2 separate regions of the Homo sapiens genome follow, and region 1 is linked to region 2. The links are contacts of gene promoters, found by promoter capture Hi-C in blood cells and fetal thymus (Javierre and others, 2016). All regions are on one chromosome and are shown on one strand. The core of a region is centred on a gene start or on the middle of the fragment in contact, and the rest is flanking DNA. Distances in the headings are between cores, read along the strand shown.

The links. Contacts are between HindIII fragments. The CHiCAGO score rates a contact against its expected background, and 5 or more counts as called.
Region 1: a contact is called between a fragment that was not itself captured here and the fragment with the promoter of FAM98B in region 2, in 1 of 17 cell types (monocytes). The highest score is 7.4, in monocytes.

What each region holds. Positions count from the first base shown.
Region 1 is chr15:45,405,202-45,412,549 of GRCh38, forward strand. AFG2B (AAA ATPase AFG2B) reads left to right here. Exons shown (of 8, transcript NM_024063.3): 2 at 119-304; 3 at 5,171-5,329. Among named protein-coding and RNA genes, the nearest start is that of AFG2B, 6.5 kb to the left of the region's middle. The HindIII fragment of the contact is 1,866 bases long and covers 1,251-3,116 here.
Region 2 is chr15:38,449,301-38,455,707 of GRCh38, forward strand. FAM98B (family with sequence similarity 98 member B) reads left to right here and starts at 4,827. Exons shown (of 8, transcript NM_173611.4): 1 at 4,827-4,932. The coding sequence starts at 4,862. RefSeq lists enhancers at 4,975-5,084, 5,145-5,244. The HindIII fragment of the contact is 3,660 bases long and covers 2,262-5,921 here.

The sequences.
Region 1 (7,348 bases), core at 934-3,433, 7.0 Mb after region 2:
CCCAGTGTCTGGTTGCTATCATTCTGCTGTCTACCTCCATCCATGAGATCAACTTTAAAAATAATATATTTTAAACTATATACTTCTTCTTCTTTTTTTTGTTTTGCTTTGCATATAGGTGGTCATTGGGACTCCCACACTTAAACAAAGAAAGGAAATTCTGCAAGTGATTACCTCGAAGATGCCCATCTCCAGTCATGTTGATTTGGGCCTTCTTGCAGAAATGACAGTTGGCTATGTTGGTGCCGACCTGACAGCACTCTGTAGGGAGGCTGCCATGCATGCCCTCCTTCATAGTGAGAAGGTAAGAAGTGTTAATTTATGAACATCTATGTTAATCTATTATTGTAACAGATTAATTTGGGGGTTAAAAAAAAGCGGTGAGTACATTTTCCTTAGAACATTTGATAGCTTCCACAGCTGTTGCTTATACATTTTACATCTCAACTCTATATAAATAGTATATGATTGAGGGTGGGGATAAAGGGCTGAGTCCTCTGGGTCTACTGAGTGAATTTGTTCCCTACTCTTATAGTAACTCCCTAGTGCTGAAGCCCAGAGCAGCCAAGAAATAGTGTGGCCCCAGAAGAATCAAAGAGTTTTTTTAATTTGAATTTTTTTATTTTGAGGCAATTTCAGACTTAGAAGTTACAAAAATAGTACAAAGAGTTTCCATATACCCTTCTCCTAGATTCTCCAAATGTAACATTTGCCACATTTGCTTTATCATTCTCTCTTCATGTGTATTTCCTTATATATATACATATATATAATGAAATATTTGAGCATATACTACATCCATGATGCCCCTTTACCCGCGAAAACGTAAGTGTATATTTCTGAAAAACAAGGACCTTAACCACAGTATGATGATCAAGCTGAGAAAATTAACGCAGACATAATACTTGTACTTAACCTAAATAGGCCTTAATCTAGAATCATACTTCAGGCTTTCTTCTATGAAAACATAACTTTTTAAGAGTCAGTTATTCTGTGGAATATTCGTCAGTTTGGGTTTGACTAATGTTTCTTCATGATTCAATTCAGGTTTTGCATTTTGGGCAGGAATATAATAGAAATGATCCTGTGTCTTTCTCATTGCATCTGTTAGGCAGCACATGATATGTTTCTGTTCTATCACTGGTGAAGTTAACTTTGATTTCTTGGTTAAGGTGGTGTCTGTGAGATTTCTCCATTGTCAAGATACCGTTTTTCCCTTTGTTATTAATAAGTATCTAGTGGGAGAAATAAGCTTTTCTAACCTAGGAGAAGATTGGGCACTTGGAATTGTATTTAAATTTGTCCTTGATCTGCAGGTCTGTAATTCATGACTATTTCCTAACAATATTTAAGATATTAGATTAAATATAATACTTTTCAACTTTGTTGGTTGTAAAATCCAGTATTTTGTATATAATAAATAGTCCTGAATCCTTAAACCCATTCAGGAAAAAACTGATTTCAGCAGGCTAAGGATTCTGAAACAGAGTTTTCAATCTCATTTGTAACATCAAAATTGTCTTTTCATCTTAAACTGCAAAAGAATGATTTATTATCCTAAATTTTGAAAAACCTTTTTACCTAAATAATTTATACCTTGCCTCACTTCCTTTCCTTTATTTCTACAGTTACACCGAAGGTGGGGAGGAGTTATGTGATCTTCTAGTTGATCTTTTAAGTCTTCATCTTGTAGGTTTAGACCAAAACTACTTGAAGTTTTAAAGTTCTGTGTGTAAAGATGTGAGAATAGATGTCTTTTGAGGGAGACAATAAGTAAGCAGGAGATGGGAAGGGAGATTTACATTCAGGATTTCCTCTGCTTTGAAGTTCCAGGTTTGACCATAAGCACCTCTCACTTAGGTGGACCAGTCAGCTGCTGTCGTCCCAGGGTGGAGCCCACTGCTACTTCAGGAGGGGCCTGCTCAGGTGTAGTTACCACAGGTGATGGCTGAGTTCAGAAACAACCCAGGGGAAGTGGAAGGAAGAAAGGCAAAAAGCATGAAGGGACAGACAACTGGGAAGGTACTGGCTCCATCTTTTATTCTTTCCCCCACCAGCTGAGGGGCTGCTGCTACCTCTCCCTGTACCAGGGCAGATAAGGGATACCTTACACTTTGTTAAACTTTTTGTGAAGTATTCCTATTAAAGGATTAGAACTGTAGTTTAACACTCAGACACACACAGAGGGGAAAGAATGTATAAGCCCAAAGAATCAAGTAAAATAATGTGTACACACATGATCTTGAACTATAAATGAGATTTTCAAATATTAGTTCGTGTTACCTAAAGATTAGTTAATATTTGGACATCAGACACCTAACATACTATCAGCCAGTTAAAAAGGCTTTTTTTTAAGTATATAATAGGGTTATTCATGAGAAATGAAGATAGAAAATTATAAAGAACTGCCTACCTGAAATCTCACTTTCCAGAGATGACAATTGTTAACACTTTTGGGAGAATACTTTACAGAATAGCTCTATACATACAGATTCACTTAACATCTGTTTACAAATAAGAAAAGACAGTTTGTTTTTGAAAACGGGAATTTGTGGACAACTAGATGTTTAGAATTGGATATAAGAGGGCAAATACTTTAATAAATACAGTACAGATATTTTTAATAAAATTTTCAGGACTTTTTAACTAACAAAAAAAAATGTGTTTCACTAGAATGATCAAGGAGAATGTAAAGAGTCTCCAAAATATAACCTGAGAGTGAAGACGACTTCTCTAGGCATAACATAAACCTTAATAGCCAAAAAAGAGATTATTTGCTGAGTTGACCATTTGGGGGTGGCAAAACAATACTATAAAGTAGTCAGACTAGGAAAAATACTTTTAGTCCAATTTCCTTGATAGGGAATGAACAAATCTTACAAATCAGTAAGAAAAGACCAACAGTCCAAGAGAAAATGGGTAATGGGGTATGAACAGGTAGTTGACAATAAAAGGAATGACAATAAACATGAAAGATGTTCAACCTTGATTTCTTCTAAAATTATTGTCTTTATTTTGAAATAATTAAAACTTATAGGAAAGTTGCAAGATAGTTACAAAGAACTTCCACTAAACCCTTTATCCAAATTCACCAATTTTTAACTTTTTGCCAAATAAGCTTTATCATTCTCTTTTGCTCTCCTTGCTCCCTCTCCTCTTCTCTTTCTCTCTCTCTCTGTCATCTCCATATATATGTATTTATATGCACATAGTATTTATTTATTTTGGACTATTTGAGAGAATGGGTTGCATATATCATGACACTTTATCCCTTAACATTTTAATGTCTATTTCCTAAGAACAGAAATGTTCCCATATGTCACCACAGTATGGTGATGTATAGTGTTGTGTCCTTAGAGCCTCACATGTAGAGGCACAGAGTGTACATTGGTTCCTCATTGGTGATGCTAACTTTTATCAACTAGTTCAGGCAGTGCGCAGTTTCTCCACTGTGGAACTGCTATTTTTCCCTTTGCCACTAATGAGAAATCTGTGGGGAGACACTTTGAGATATCCTGCTCCTCATCAAACTTTCAGGCTGGGCACAGTGGCTTACACCTGTAGTCCCAGCTGCTCAGGAGGCTGAGATAGAATGATCACTTGAGCCCAGGTGTTCGAGGCTCAATGAGCTGTTGCCTCAATGCCACTGCACTCCAGCCTGGGCAGCAGAGCAAGACCCTGTCTCATAAATGAATAAACTTTTACTCCCCTCAACATAGCATCCAATTCTTGCTCATAACAGCCTTTACTATCATGATTGCAAGACGGGCGATTTTTTTAATTCCAATATTCCCTCTACCTCATTTTGAATTGAAGAAATTTAGTTAACACAGTAATGAATGAGTACTGGTTCTTCCTGTCATATTGGCAGACATTTAAGAGTTTGGAAATGGGCCACGTGCGGTGGCTCACACCTATAATCCCAGCACTTTGGGAGGCTGAGATGGGTGGGTCAGTTGAGGTCAGGAGTTCAAGACCAGCCTGGCCAACATGGGGAAACCCCGTCTCTGCTAAAAATACAAAAATTAGTCAGGTGTGGTGGCTCATGCCTATAAATCCCAGCTACTCGGTAGGCTGAGGCACGAGAATCATTTGAACCCAGGAGGCGGAGGCTGCAGGGAGCCAAGATCACAGCACTGCACTCCAACCTGGGTGACAGAGTGAGACCCCGCCAAAAAAAAAAAAAAAAAGAGTTTGATAATGTCTGTACTGGAGAGGTGTGGAGAGAACACAGCTTCATATTATCGGAGAAGAATAAATTGTTGCAGCTTCCTTAGAGGACAATTTGGTAATAGCTGTCAAAATTGTATATGTGTGTACTTGTAAACCCAGTAATTCTACTTTGAGGAAATTATTACATAAAATACTTGAACATGAGTTTGAACATGGTGGCTCATGCCTGTAATCCCAGCACTTTGGGAGGCTGAGGTGGGAGGATCGCTCGAGCCCATGAGTTCCAGACCAGCCTGGGCAACATAGGGAGACCGCATCTCTACAAAAAAAAAATATATATATTTTTTTAATTAGCCAGGCTGGTGGCACATACCTGTAGTTCTAGCTACTCCGGAGGGTGAGGTGCAAGGATTACTTGAGCCTGGGAGACTGCAGTGAGCTATGATAACATCACTGCATTCCAGCCTGGGTAACAGAGTGAGACCCTGTCTCAAAATAAACAAATACTTGAACATGAGCACAAAGACTTTTTCAGTTGCAGCTTTGTTTTTAATATCTAAAGACTGGGGATGACCTAACGTTTGTCAGAAAGGTGTAGTTGGGGTAAATTCAGTAGTGTATTATGGAATTGTCAAAAAGAATGACGTAGAACTGTGTTAGTTGACATGAAAAGCTCTCTAAGATAGGTGAAAGAAGAAAAGTACAGGCTGATATAGTATGGTTCCATTTGTGTATCTGTTTAAAAGGATATATGTATGCTTACTAGCATAACATACTGGAAAAATACACAAACTCTTGACATCTTTCGGGGAAGAATTACTGGCAGGAATTGGCAGGGAGACATTTAATTCTTTGTACTATGTATATAAATTGTTTTTATAATGATAACAAAATAACTTTACAAATCCAAAAGAAGATTTTAAAAACAAATTGTGCTATAAAAAAAGACCAACCTAATTTTTGGTTTGATTTTGCTTTTTTGGGTGTATTTCTTCAGAACCAGGACAATCCTGTGATTGATGAAATAGACTTCCTTGAAGCTTTTAAAAATATTCAGCCCTCATCGTTTCGAAGCGTCATTGGATTAATGGATATCAAGCCTGTTGACTGGGAGGAGATTGGTGGCCTTGAAGATGTAAAACTGAAGTTAAAACAGGTAAGACAGATAATCTACTTAATCCAGTAGGATATTACAGATTAACATTCTGTGCATTTATGATGACAACATACTGCGCTGAAACTGCTCTTGCTCCTATCACTAATGTGATCCTAACATCTAAATCCAATGATTGCTTTTCAGTCCTTATTTAATTGGACTTCTGTGGATGTCTAAACTGGTTTTTATAATTTCCCACCTCGACCCTCTCTTTGTTTTTGCTTTAAAGAGTTTATAACCTAAGGCTGGGTGTGGTGGCTTATGTCTATAATCCCAGCACTTTGGGAGGCCAAGGGAGGAGGATTGCTTGAGTTCAGGAGTTCAAAACCAGCCTGGGCAACATAGCAAGCCCTTGTCGCTATTTAAAAAAAAATAAGTTTATAATCTAAGGCTGGGCGCAGTGGCTCATACCTATAATCTCAGCATTTTAGGAGGTTGAGGTGGGTGGATCACCTGAGGTCAGGAGTTCAAGACCAGCCTGGCCAACATGGTGAAACCCCGTCTCTACTAAAAATACAAAAATTAGCTGGGCATGCTGGCAGGTGCCCATAATCCCAGCTACTCGGAAGGCTGAGGCAGGAGAATCACTTGAACCCGGGAGGCAGAGGTTGCAGTGAGCCAAGATCCCACCACTGCACGACAGCCTGGGCAACAGAGAAACCGTGTCCGGGGGGAAAAAAGTGTATAACCTATAGTCTTAGCACTTTAGAAGGCCGAGACAGGAGGATCTCTTGAGGCCAAGAGTTCAAGACCAGACTGGGCAACAAAGTAAGACTCCCCATCTCTATTTAAAAAAATTATTTTGACACATGTTTGCTCTGTCACCCAGGCTGGAGTATTGTGTCACAAACACAGCTCACTGCACCCTTGAACTCCTGGGCTCAAGCAGTCCTTCTGCCTCAGTGCCCCACCAAGTAGCTGGGACTACAGGTGCATACCACCACGCCTGGCTAATTTTTAAATTTTTTGTAGAGATAGAGTCCCACTGTGCTACTCAAGCTGGCCTTGAACTCCTGGGCTTAAACAGTCCTCCAACTCGGCCTCCTAAAATGGTGGGATTATAGTCATGAGCCACCATGCCTGGCCTACAAAAAATTTTTTTAAATTAGCCAGGTGTGGTAGCACGTGCTTATGGTCCTAGCTACTCAGGAGGATCACTTGAGGCTTGACCCCAGGACACCCAGGAGATCGAGGCTGCAGTGAGCTATGATTGCACCACTGCACTGCAGCTTGGGCAACAGAGCGAGATCCTGTGTCTTTAAAAAAAAATTAAAAAACAATTTTGACTGGGCATGGTGGCTTACACCTGTAATCCCAGCACTTTGGGAGGCCGAGGCAGGCAGATCACCTGAGGTCAGGAATTAGAAACCAACCTGGCTGGCATGGAGAAACCCCATTTCTACTAAAAATGCAAAAAATTAGCCAGGCGTGGTGGCGCATGCCTGTAATCCCAGCTACTCAGGAGGCTGAGGCAGGAGAATCGCTTGAACCCGGGAGGTGGAGGTTGCAGTGAGCCAAGACCACGCCATTGTACTCCAGCTTGAGCAACAAAAGTGAAACTCCATCTCAAAAAAACAAAAACAATTTATAGGCCGGGCGTGGTGGCTCACACCAGTAATCCCAGCACTTTGGGAGGCCGAGGCAGGAGGATCACGAGGTCAGGAGTTCAAGACCAGCCTGGCCAACATGGTGAAACCCTGTCTCTACTAAAAATACAAAAATCAGCCAGGTGTGGTGGCGCAAGCCTGTAATCCCAACTACTGGGAAGGCTGAGGCAGGAGAATCGCTTCAACCTAAGAGGCTGAGGTTGCAGTGAGCTGAGGTTGCACCACTGCACTCTAGCCTGGGACAGAGTGAGACTCCGTCTCAAAAAAAAAAAAAATTATAATCTAAAACGGGGGTCAACAGATTTCTGTAGAGAGAGCCACATAGTCAATGTTTTAAGCTTTGTGATCCACAGTCTCTGTCATAACCACTCACCTCTGCCGTTGTAGCACCAAAGCAGCTGTAGACCATATG
Region 2 (6,407 bases), core at 3,577-6,076:
GTTCATGAAGACAGTTTATGTTATCTCCTAAAAACTTTATTGTTTTCTCTTTTAATTTACATCTACCATTATCAGGAGTTAATTTTTGTGTATAGCATGAGGTTGAAGTGGAAGATCTGGATATCCCATTGCCAGCACTGTATGTTGAAAAGGCCTGAACTGAAATGGCAACTTGGTCATTACTTAGGTGACTTTGAAAGTGCAGCTCTATATTCATGAGGGAAATTAGTCTACAGATTCCCTTTTTAGTAATGTCCTCATTGGTGTTTGTTTTAAGATTAGGTTGTCTTCACAGAAAACATTGAAAATGCTCCATGTTTTCCTGGTCTCTTGGAAAGTTTGTGTAAGAATGGTGCTACTTATGTGGAGGAATTCATCAGGAAAGCAATCTAGGCTTGGAGTTTTCTTTGTGGATGAATTTTAATTAGTGATTAAGTTTCTTTAATAGATACTGAACCATTCATATTTTAATTTTTTCTGATATTTGTTAAATTGTATTTTGCAAGAAATTTATCAACTTCCTTTAAATTTTTAAATTTAAAGTTGTTCATAACATTCTCTTTTAACTATTTAATGTCTGATAAATAGTACTGATATTTTTCATTTCTTATATTGGTTGTTTGTTCTTTTCCCCCACCTTGATCAGCCTTGCTAAAGATCTGTCAATTTTATTAGCCTTTGCAGACTCAGATTTTGGCTTAATTTTCTCTATTGCATTTTCTTCCTATTTCGTTGGTGTCTACTCTTTATTGTTTTTATTTCTCTGCTTCTTTGGATTTCATTTGTTTTTCAGCCTCTTAAGATTGATACTTAAGTAATTTTTAATCTTTTTTCATTTCTAATATTCACACCTAATGCTATATATTTTCCTCTAAGAATGAATCCACATATGTTGAATCCTGCATGTGTTGATATGTTGTGTTTTTATTATCACTCAGTTCAAAACTCTCTAATATCCATTATAATTTCTAGTTTGAGGCCTGGTTATTTAGAAGTGTATTGCTTGAATTCCCATCAATTAGTTAAGGGATTTTTTAGTTTTCTTTTTAAATTCTTAATTCCTTATTTTTTTTGTTAGACAATCTCATACTCGGGAATTAATTCGTATTTTAAATCCACTTTAGTCAGAGAACATGCTCTTTATGATTTCAATTTTGAATTTGGTGAGACTTACTTTAGGATCCACTATAGGGTTAAGTTTTATAAATTACATGTGCACTTGAAAAATGCATATTCTGAAGTTTTGGGAGGGGTAGAGATTTATCTATATCAATTAGGTCAAATTTATAAATTATGTTTTCCAAGTCTTATTGACTTGGAATATTTTATGCCTACTGATTTTTTTTGACTGCTTGTTATATTAGTTAATGTGATTGTGACTTTGTCTATTTCTCCTTTAAGTTGTTGGCTTTTAAATTTATATACTCTGAGGCTGGTTATTAAGCAAATAAACATTTAGAATTCTTATGGTTTTCTGCGTCATGACCCTTTTATCATTATGAAATGTCCCTATTTATCTCTCTGTAATATTATAATGCTTCTGTGTTAATAGCTATTTTTTCTAATATTAATATTGCTACCCAGCCATGTTTTGGTTTGATATTTTATCTTCCATTTTTGCCTTCTTTTAGATTTAGTAAGTATTTTTCATTATTCCATTTCTCCCTTTTCTTAGTTGTTAGTTATATACTATTTCATAATTCTGTTAGTGATTACCTAAATGATGGCAATATGCAATCTTGATTTGCTACCATAAATTCATTATTTTACCACTGCCTGGATAATGGAAGAACATTATTGTTTTTAAACTCTTTGTCAGCACCTCACCCCCTGAATTCTCTCTATATTTTACATTTCAGAAGTCATTACTATTACTGTTTTGAATAGTCAATATATATCTAGTTTCACTTACATATTTACCATTTCCAGTGATACTCTTCATTATTTTTTGCACCATTGGGATTTCATCTGGCATCATTTTTTTTTCATCTGGCATCATTTTTTTAACCCGAAGAACCCTCTTTAATATTTCTTTTGACATGGGTCTGCTGGAAACAATTTACATGAGTTTTGTTTATCTGAAAACATCTTTATTTTGCCTTCATTTCTTAAGGATATTTCCACTGTGTAAAATTCTGGATTTGTCATTATTTAAAGCATATGAAAGATGTTGTTTCATGATTTTCTTGCTTCCATTGTTTCTTTTGAGAAGTCAGCTTATATTATTGTTAAAGTTTGATTTTTTTCTCCAGCTGCTTTTAAGCTTTTCCTTCTATCTTTTGTTTTCAGCATTTTTACAAAAATTTTCCTAAATTGTGAATTTCTTTGTATACGTCCTGGTTGACATTAACAGTGCTCTTGGATCAGTGTTTTGTCAGGAAATTTTTAGCAGAGTCTCTTCTTGCTTCTGTCTCATTTTTTCAAGGGTCTTGTTGGAGTCCAATTATTCCATTTACTATGTTAGACCTTTTCAGTTTTTTCAAATATCTGTCATGCTTTTTTTTTTCTTTTGAGATAGGGTCTCACTCTGTTGCCCAGGCTGGAGTGCAGTGGCTTGATTACAGCTCACTGCAGCCTCGGCCTCCTGGGCTCAAGCAATCCTGATCGTCCTGCCCTAGCTTCCTCAATAGCTAGGACTACAAGTGCATACCACCATACCTGACTAATTTTTAAATTTGTTGTAGAGATATGGTCTCACTTTGCTGCCCAGGCTGGTCTCAAACTCCTGGACTCAAGTGATCCTCCCACCTCAGCCTCCCAAAGTGCTGGGATTACAGATGCGAGCCACCATGCTAGGCCAGTCATGCTTTTTTGTTTGTTTTTAGTTCTTTTTCTGTGCATAACTTTTGTTATTCATTTATTTAGATTTTTTAGGAAAACCAGCAGCAGAACACTTAAGATCAATAATAATAAAGAACAGTTACCTCATTTCTATTTGATTTTTACAGAGACTTTTTGCCAAGAGTACTAAGACTAGTACCTTCTATGACACCCCAACTCTGACAAGAGGCAGTAACCACTAATATACATTCTCCTCTCCCTTATTTGGAGATGAATTCAGATACATTAAACTGCAAGTAATTTTACGCTTAAGCCTTGTACAACACTAAAATATACAGTAATAATAGTCATTATACAAATGTATGGTTGAGTTTATGATATGGTTAGGATCTGTGTCTGTGCCCAAATCTCATGTTAAATTATAATCCCCAATGTTGGAGGAGGGACCTGGTGGGAGGTGATTGGATCATGAGGGCAGAGTTCTCTTGAATGGTTTGACACCATTCCTGCCTTGGCACTGTATAGTGAGTGAGTTTATCATGAGATCTGGTTTTTTAAAAGTGTGTGGCAGATCACGAGGTCAGGAGTTCGAGACCAGCCTGACCAACCTGGTGAAACCCCGTCTCTACTAAAAATACAAAAATTAGCCGGGTGTGGTGGTGGGCGCCTGTAATCCCAGCTACTCGGGAGGCTGAGGCAGGAGAATCGCGTGAACCCGGGAGGCGGAGTTTGCAGTGAGCTGAGATCATGCCACTGCACTCTAGCCTGGGCGACAGTGCGAGACTGAAAAAAAAAAAAAAAGTGTGTGGCACCTCCCTGCCTCCCTGCACCCTCTCTCTTCCTCTTACTCCGGCCACGTGATAGCTGCACTCCCCCTTCCCCTTCTGCCACAACTGTCCATTTCCTGAGGCCTCCCCAGGAGTGGAGCAGATGCCAGCATCATGCTTCGTGTACAGCCTGTGGAACCATGAGCCAATTAAACCCCTTTTCTTTATAAATTACCCAGTCTCAGGTATATCTTTATAGCAATATGAGAGTGGACTACTACAGCTTACCTTTGAGTGTTTTACACATTTATGGGTATGCTTTTTGTTTGTAACCATAATTAGGAAGGCGAGAGCATTACTGGTCTTTATTGGACTGGGGCTACGAATGCTATGTAGTCTGCAATGGAAGGGACAGGTCCATACAAGGGATCAATAGTTATACTTCATGCAGGATTTCCAACAGTTCTGCTAGAGTATTCATGTAGGTGACATGCCTGCTAATAATGATCTAACCTTATACTCTTAGTACCTTTTACATATGAACCCTAAAATACATTTTTTAAATCCTTTAGATAAGAGATTGAATTCTTCATGGATAGTACACAGAGGGTATATTATGTTTTGTTTGTTTGGAACTTTACAGAGAATTCGCCACAATTTTGGAAAACCACATCAACTACCTTACTTTGCTGGCGGTATGTTTGTTGCTTATACAACTAATGCTTTGTCAGCAATGAAGCACATCATCTGAATATGCAGTTGAGGGGATTCTACATAGATAGATGCAAGCATCTGATCACTTCATTGGTCTTCCGCATTTCATAAGGAGAAAAATATTACCTTGTTATAAATTACTTCATTTTTTCCTTCAAGTTGAAGCATCGTCGTGTATATTGATTTAAAAATTATATGTGTAGGCATGTGATATTAGTTACTAATTTTAGCTGAAGATAATTATAATTTTATTTCAGATTTCTGTTATTAAAAAGGTCTGGAATCGGATAGGTTGAGATCAACCCGATACCACGATATTTGCTAAAATTTATTTGAACACACAGAAAAGTCCCAACACAGAGAACTCTTTATTACTATTATTTATTATTTCTACTATTCTTTTAAAAAATTATTATCGTTACACGCAGCGGTTTTAGGCACTATGAAGTGTTTATTGCCTCGGGGCTGGGAACCTTTGCGCCCTTCTTCAGCTGTGCTCTCAGGCAGTTACCGGCCAGACCCGGACCGGAACCTTGGCGCGGTGACGCTAGTTTCCGGCGGGCTACTTAGAGCGCCGAACAGCTCTGGGCCAAAGGACCATGAGAGGGCCGGAGCCGGGTCCCCAACCGACGATGGAGGGAGACGTGCTGGACACACTGGAGGCGCTGGGGTGAGTGCTTTTGGAGACGCCTTTTCCCTGAAAACGCAACCTCTCCTTGGCCTGGCTGCTTAGCCTACTTCCCTTGGGCCTCTGTGGGCCTGGGCGGCCATGTGTAGGCCTCCTTCCCTGCCTCGATCCCTCCGGCGCCGACGGAGTTAAGCGGGAGGCGGGAGAGAAATCTATTTGGGGGGTGGAGCAGGGCCGGAGAGCTGGGGTTCGTGGCCCCCTCTTCGAAACTTCTTGCCTCGAAACTCTGTTGCAGGAATCCGCCGGGTGGCGCGGAGCGGCCCTTCTAGCACCGGTTTTCTGGGCTAGCTCGCGCCCGCAGGTGATATTTGTGTTGACGTAGTTCTGGCGCCCGGAGGGAGGTGCTGGAACCTGAGCTGCTGTTGAGGACTGTTGTCTCCTACAATGTACAACTTGTGGCTTACTTGGGGCTCTGGAGCGAATGGCTTTTACTTTGACCGGAGAAAGTGTTGTAGTTCATTGCGAGTTCGTTCTTTCAACCATTTCGTCCGTTCGTCAACGTGTATATTAGCTTGTATATTAATTTACACATATTTACGTTTGTAAATTTCCCCTAGGCAAGGGAAAAGGATAGTTTTTCAGATTACTCTTGGCTTACATAGTCGCGCAGGCTGCAAGTCTGCTGCCGGCTGGTATTTACAGTGCAGAATGGTAAGTGCTGTGAGAACTCAGGGTGGAGGTGGGAGTAATGTTAATACTTAACAAGTGTGGTGGTTCGTAATCTCCCCCTCAACCTCATCCTGTTTTTTTCCACACAGCTCTTGTCCCCATCCCAAATTATCATGTCCTGCCCATTCATTTGTCTCTTGAACTCTGCTTCTCCCTCGTTTTATTCCTCCTCCTCCCCAAGTCAGCTCCTGGAAAACTGATGCTTTGCATATTTTATTCACCGATGTTTTCCCAGCAACACACTAGAACGGAGTCTTTTACAGTAAATAGTGGTTGAATGAATGAGTAAATGAATGAAGAAAAGCTTAGAGAAGAGTCCACAGCAGTAAGCATAGGACCAGATAGTTGAGTCATACAGTGCACATTAAATAAAGAGCTTGGAGCCATCTGCACATTTGTTTGCCCTGCTACGTGCTGCTGTTTCTTGATAGGGGAAGCTGTGCCTTTGCAGCGTTATTATGAAGCTTGAACCAATCCCACACCCCACTTTATCTTCTCTAAAACTGCATTTGCCCCTCTATCAATTGTTTCTTTAGTTGAACCCTGATAATACCTACTTTGCAGTGACCCAGGGTTACGGAGTCTTGCACTTAGTAGATCGTGAATACATATTTGTCAAACGAAAGAACAGTGCCATTGATTATTTAGGGGGCATTTTTACTTCTGTGAAGTCCCTTGGAAGTTCTCACTTAACTTGGTTAAGAAGGAACCAAAACAAGAACTGAAAATACTTAGTAGAATTATTTAGGCTCCAAACAGTTTGAGCTCCCAAGTACTTCAGGTAAGAA